Regions from separate parts of the Homo sapiens genome. Here region 1 is linked to region 2. Evidence: promoter capture Hi-C in 16 types of primary human blood cells and fetal thymus (Javierre and others, 2016). All regions are on one chromosome and are shown on one strand. Each heading gives the region's core, a stretch centred on a gene start or on the middle of the fragment in contact. The rest is flanking DNA. Distances are from core to core; before and after follow the strand shown. Region 1 overlaps SMARCC1 (SWI/SNF related BAF chromatin remodeling complex subunit C1). Region 2 holds the start of ELP6 (elongator acetyltransferase complex subunit 6).

What was found. Contacts are between HindIII fragments. The CHiCAGO score rates a contact against its expected background, and 5 or more counts as called.
Region 1: a contact is called between a fragment that was not itself captured here and the fragment with the promoter of ELP6 in region 2, in 1 of 17 cell types (endothelial precursors). The highest score is 6.4, in endothelial precursors.

What each region holds. Positions count from the first base shown.
Region 1 is chr3:47,768,341-47,771,146 of GRCh38, forward strand. The region is part of intron 2 of SMARCC1 (SWI/SNF related BAF chromatin remodeling complex subunit C1); the gene reads right to left. Among named protein-coding and RNA genes, the nearest start is that of SMARCC1, 12 kb to the right of the region's middle. The HindIII fragment of the contact is 1,891 bases long and covers 534-2,424 here.
Region 2 is chr3:47,512,168-47,515,085 of GRCh38, forward strand. ELP6 (elongator acetyltransferase complex subunit 6) reads right to left here and starts at 1,545. Exons shown (of 7, transcript NM_001031703.3): 1 at 1,370-1,545. The coding sequence starts at 1,423. RefSeq lists enhancers at 960-1,069, 1,400-1,509. The HindIII fragment of the contact is 8,136 bases long and covers 1-2,918 here.

The DNA of each region.
Region 1 (2,806 bases), core at 229-2,728, 260 kb after region 2:
GGCACTAAACCAGGAATTGTTTTTAATTACGGCTTCTGCCTAAAAATATTCTTCCCTAATATTTTAAAATCTGGAACTAAATAATGGTTTAGTTCCCAGGAGTCAAATAGCCTACATATAACACTCTCTGAAAACACCATTTTTGAAAAGATTCATACATTCCTAATTAAGAATCCCAATATAATTTCAATCGTATTATGTAAAATACTTTATATAATGTAATCTGTAATTTTACTCTAAATTATGTTACAATTAATAAAGTGCAATCAATATGTACTATATTATAGTGAATTAAACTATTGAAAACCTCAATCAATAGCTAATTTGATAATTCTAGCCCAGTTCATAATGTAAGAGAACAGGAAATGAATACTTTAGCTGTAAAGGAACATGGAACTTTCAAATTTTTCACACATAAAATACATAACACACACACATCCCACAGAAAATGATAATGATAAAGCAAATGGGTAAAATGTTAACTGTAGATTCTGAGTGAAGAGAAAATAAAAGTTCTTCATACTAATCTTGTAAGCTTTTACTTTTAAGTATGTTTAAATTTTTGTTATAAAAAACATCAGGCAGCTAGCTGGGAGCGGTGGCTCACATCTGTAATCCCAGCACTTTGGGAGGGAGAGGTGGGCAGATCACCTGAGGTCAGGAGTTCAAGACCAGGAGTGGCCAACCTGGTGAAACCTTGTCTCTACTAAAAATACAAAAATAAGCCAGGCATGGTGGCAGGCACCTGTAGTCCCAGCTACTGGGGAGGCTGAGGCATGAGAATTGCTTGAACCCAGGAGGCGGAGGCTGCAGTGAGCCGAGATCGCACCACTGTACTCCAGCCTGGATGACAGAGCGAGACTCCGTCTCAAAAAAAAAAAAAAAAAAAAAAAGGGCCGGGCACAGTGGCTCACGCCTGTAATCCCAGCACTTTGAGAAGCAGAGGTGGCCGGATCATGAGGTCAGGAGTTCAAGACCAGCCTGGCCAAGATGGTGAAACTCTGTGTCTACTAGAAAATACAAAAATTAGCCGGGCGCAGTGGCAGGTGCCTGTAATCCCAGCTACTTAGTAGAGACGGGGTTTCACCTTGTTAGCCAGGATGGTCTCGATCTCCTGACCTCGTGATCCGCCCTCCTCAGCCTCCCAAAGTGCTGGGATTACAGGCATGAGCCACCGCACTCCGCCAACCATAACACTTTTATGTGTTGCCACCACTACCTGAAAATCCCATCCTCCCCCACTTAGCTGAAGAACTCACACTCAACTTTCAAGACACAATTCAAATGTCCTTTTCCACAGAAATATTTCCTGACATCACCAAGTAAGTCAAAGGCTCTACTCACACAGCTCATTAGACTGTGAGTCCCCTGAGGACAAATAATATAAAGTATTTGTTTGTATTCTTAGGACCCTGCACCTAATCAAATTCTTAACATTTGCTGAGCTGCAATCAGTGGAGAAAAGGAGCCCTTTTAAATAAACTTTTCTGGAATAACCAGATAACCATAAGGAAAAACAGAAAAATGGATCTGCCATTTCCCACACTAACTACCAGGGCAAATCCTAAATGGATAAGAGAGTGACATGTAAAAATAAGGCTGGGGCCGGGCACGGTGGCTCACGCCTATAATCCCAGCACTTTGGGAGGCCGAGGCAGGCAGATCACGAGGTCAGGAGATTGAGGCCATCCTAGCTAACACAGTGAAACCCCGTCTCTACTAAAAATACAAAAAAAAAATTAGCCAGTGTGGTGGTGGGCGCCTGTAGTCCCAGCTACTCGGGAGGCTGAGGCAGGAGAATGGCATGAACCCGGTAGGCAGAACTTGCAGTGAGCTGAGATTGTACCACTGCACTCTAGCCTGGGTGACAGAGTGAGACTGTCTCAAAAAAAAAATAAATAATAAGGCTGAGCATGGTTACTCATACCAGTAATCCCAGGACTTTGCAAAGCCAAGGCAGGAAGATCACTTGAGCCCAGGAGTTCAAGACCAGCCTGGGACCAGGCACAGTGGCTCACACCTATAATCCCAGCACTTTGGGAGGCTGAGGCGGGTGGATCACCTGAGATCAGGAGTTCGACACCAGCCTGGTCAACATGGTGAAACCCCGTCTCTACTAAAAACACAAAAAAATTAACCAGGCATGGTGGCAGGTGCCTGAATTCCCAGCTACTCGGGAGGCTGAGGTACAAGACTCACTTGAACCTGGGAAGCAGAGGTCGTGGTGAGCTGAAATTGCACCACTGCACTGCAGCCTGGGCAACACAGCAAGACTTTGACTCCAAAAAAAAGATCAGCCTAGGCAACACAGCAACACCCCGTCTCTATCTTTATAAATTAAAATTAAAAAAAGGTAAAAAATGAAATCATACAAGTACTAAAAGAACACATTGCTGAATTCCTTTATAACCTAGGAATGATAAAAGCTTCCCAATTATAATTCAAAATGAGAAAAGTAACCACATCAATATATTTAACTAAATTTCTTTAACTTTTTGGATAATAAAAACATCACAGACAAACACATTTACAGCAAGATCACCGAAACAATACTATTTTTTAAAATTTTATTTATTTATTTATTTTTTTGAGATGGAGTCTCACTCTGTCGCCCAGGCCGGAGGCAGTGGCGCAATCTCGGCTCACTGCAAGCTCTGCCTCCCGGGTTCATGCCATTCTCCTGCCTCAGCCTCCCAAGGAGCTGGGACCACAGGCACCCGCCACCACGCCCGGCTAATTTTTGTACTTTTAGTAGAGATGGTGTTTCACCTTGTTAGACAGGATGTTCTCAATCTCCTGACATCGT
Region 2 (2,918 bases), core at 295-2,794:
ATAAAAAGGCTTTAGACACTTAGTATCCTGGTTGCCTGGAGGAGTTTACCATTTCATTAGGAAGACAAAGATTATGAATAAACCAGGCTGGGCGTGGTGGCTCACGCCTGTAATCCCAGCACTTTGGGAGGCAGAGGCGGGCGGATCACCTGAGGTCAGGAGTTCCAGACCAGCCTGGCCAACATGGTGAAACCCCGTCTCTAACAAAAAATACAAAAAAAAATCAGCCAAGTAATTAGCCCGGTGTGGTAGCGCACGCCTGCAATCCCAGCTACTTGGGAGGCTGAATAAGGAGAATCACTTGAACCCGGGAGGTGAGGTTGCAGGGAGCCGAGATCGCGCCAGTGCACTCCAGCCCAGGCGAGGGAGCGAGACTCCATCAAAAATAAATAAATAAATAAATAAGCCAAAAGATACACTCCTGAAAGAGGTTACTCCTACGTTAAAATGTGAAAGGTTTCAAGGTACCCCGGAGTGTGAGGAGGGTGGAGAGAACAGGCCAGCCTGGGGTGCCCAAGACGGACTTGGTCCAAGCCAATTTGGCTCTGTCCTGCTTCTAACAGTTCTATTAGAGATCACAAGGAGGAAGAGTAAGAAGAACAGCAGCGTTCAATACAATGTGCCAATTGCTCCGGGGCGAGGTGGCGGTTAGGAAGCTCGCCCATGAAGACGGCGGCGAAACGAACTCCCCTCTCCTCTCGGGCCTATTCTGCAGTCTCCTCTGAGCGCCTGGGACCCCCCACCCCAGTGAACATGCACAGCGCGCCACAGTTCACGTCCGCGAATATAACCCAACCCCACTGTCGGCCATGCTTCCCAGGTACTTTTTTTTTTTTTTTTTGAGGTGGAGTCCCGCTCTGTCGCCCAGGCTGGAGTGCGGTGGCGAGATCTCGGGTCACTGCAACCTCCGCCTCCCGGGTTCAAGCAATTCTCCTGTCTCAGCCTCCCGAGTAGCTGAGATTACAGGCATGAGCCACCACGCCCGGCTAATTTTTGTATTTTTCGTAGAGACGGGGGTTTCACCATCTTGGCCAGACTTGTCTCGAACTCTTGACCTTAGATGATGCACCCGCCTCGGCCTCCCAAACTGCTGGGATTACAGGGGTGAGCCACCGCGCCCGGCCGCTTCCCAGGGACTTTTAAGGACACGCACAGCCGTTGAGAATATGCGAGATGGCCCAGAAGCCCACTTTCGGCGGGCCCAAGCCTCCAGTCCAATCCCCGGGTCGATCCTCTGCGGACTACAACTCCCAGGTACCCCGTGCCGGGTCGTCGCGCCATTCCCCGGGGTCGTGCGCACCGCCTCCCGGATGCAGTATTCCGCTGCCCTGCCAGGTCCCGCCCCCTTCCGGCCAGCGGGACCTCTTACCTGCTCCGCCCTGTCGGGGGTGGTGTTAAGCAGGTTATTAAGTTCCACGAACATTCCGAGCTCCTGGGACTAGCGCTCTGGAGGAGAACCCGGAGTGCTGCAGAGACGACGGAGGCTGGAGAGCAAAACACACCCGACAGCCCGGCTCGCGCAAGGAAGCGCGCATGCGCAATGCCACTTTTGCGAGCCAGCCACAGCCAATGAGGCGGGTGCCTCGATGGGACCGCTGCGCACGCGCGTAGACGTCCGTCGAGTCCCAGGTGGTAGGAAACGATGGGCTTCTCTGTGCGACTGCCAGCGGCCTCTGGCGGCTCATTCCGCGCAGATCTGCGTGGCGCCCGAGCCCTCCCAGTGGGCCCCCAAGGCTCCACGCGACCGAGTATTCTTCTTCCCTTGGCCTCGCTCTCTGCCCAGCCCCGGGCTCCTTTTCTCCACACGTGGCTGTCAAGCGCCTTCTGTATGCCCCACACTCCTGGGAGCTTGGGCTACATCGATGAACAAAAACAAAGGACAGGGAATTTATTATTATTATTATTATTATTATTATTATTATTATTATTTAATTGAGACGGAGTCTTGCCCTGTCGCCCAGGCTGGAGTGCAGTGGCGCGATCTCGGCTCACTACAGTCTCCGCCTCCTGGGTTCACGCCATTCTCCTGCCTCAGCCTCCCGAGTGTAGCTGGGACTACAGGCGCCCGCCACCACGCCCGGCTAATTTTTTGTATTTTTAGTAGAGACGGGGTTTCACCGTGTTAGCCAGGATGGTCTTGATCTCCCGACCTCGTGATCCGCCGGCCTCGGCCTCCCAAAGTGCTGGGATTACAGGCATGAGCCACCACGCCCGGCCGACACGGAATTATATCTTGAAAAGTTGTGTGGAGAAAAGCAAAGTGGGATTAGAGAGTACCAATGGGGGCAGGGGTAGGTTCCAGAATTAAAGAGGTTGTCAGGGTGGGTCTCACTAAGAAAGTGTGGTTGCGGCTGGGCGCGGTGGCTCACACCTGTAATGCCAGCACTTTGGGAGGCCTAGACGGAGGGATCACGAGGTCAGGAGTTCGAGACTAGCCTGGCCAATATAGTGAAACCCCCTTCTCTATTAAAAATACAAAAAATTAGCCTGGCGTGGTGGGGGGCGCCTGTCATCCCAGCCACTCGGGAGGCTGAGCCAGTAGAATCGCTTGAACCTGGGAGGCAGAGGTTGCAGTAAGCCGAGATCACGCCATTGCTCTCTAGCCTGGGCAGCAGTGTGAGACTTCGTTAAAAAACAGTGTGGTTGCAACACGCCCTGTATGCCTGTCCTCAGAGCCTTTATACTAACTCTTCCCTCTTCCTGGAATGCCCCTTTTCCCAGATATTAAGCTGATTTTAAAATTCCCCACTTCCTTCAGGTCTCTGCTCCGATGTCACTTTATTCGTGAGGCCTTCCCTGAGCACCTTACTTAAATCACAAACTGTCCCTTTCCCAACACTTCTTTTTCCTTGCTTTTATTTTTTTCCATAACATTTATATCTATTATACCGTATATAGTTTTGTTCTAGCCCAATCAG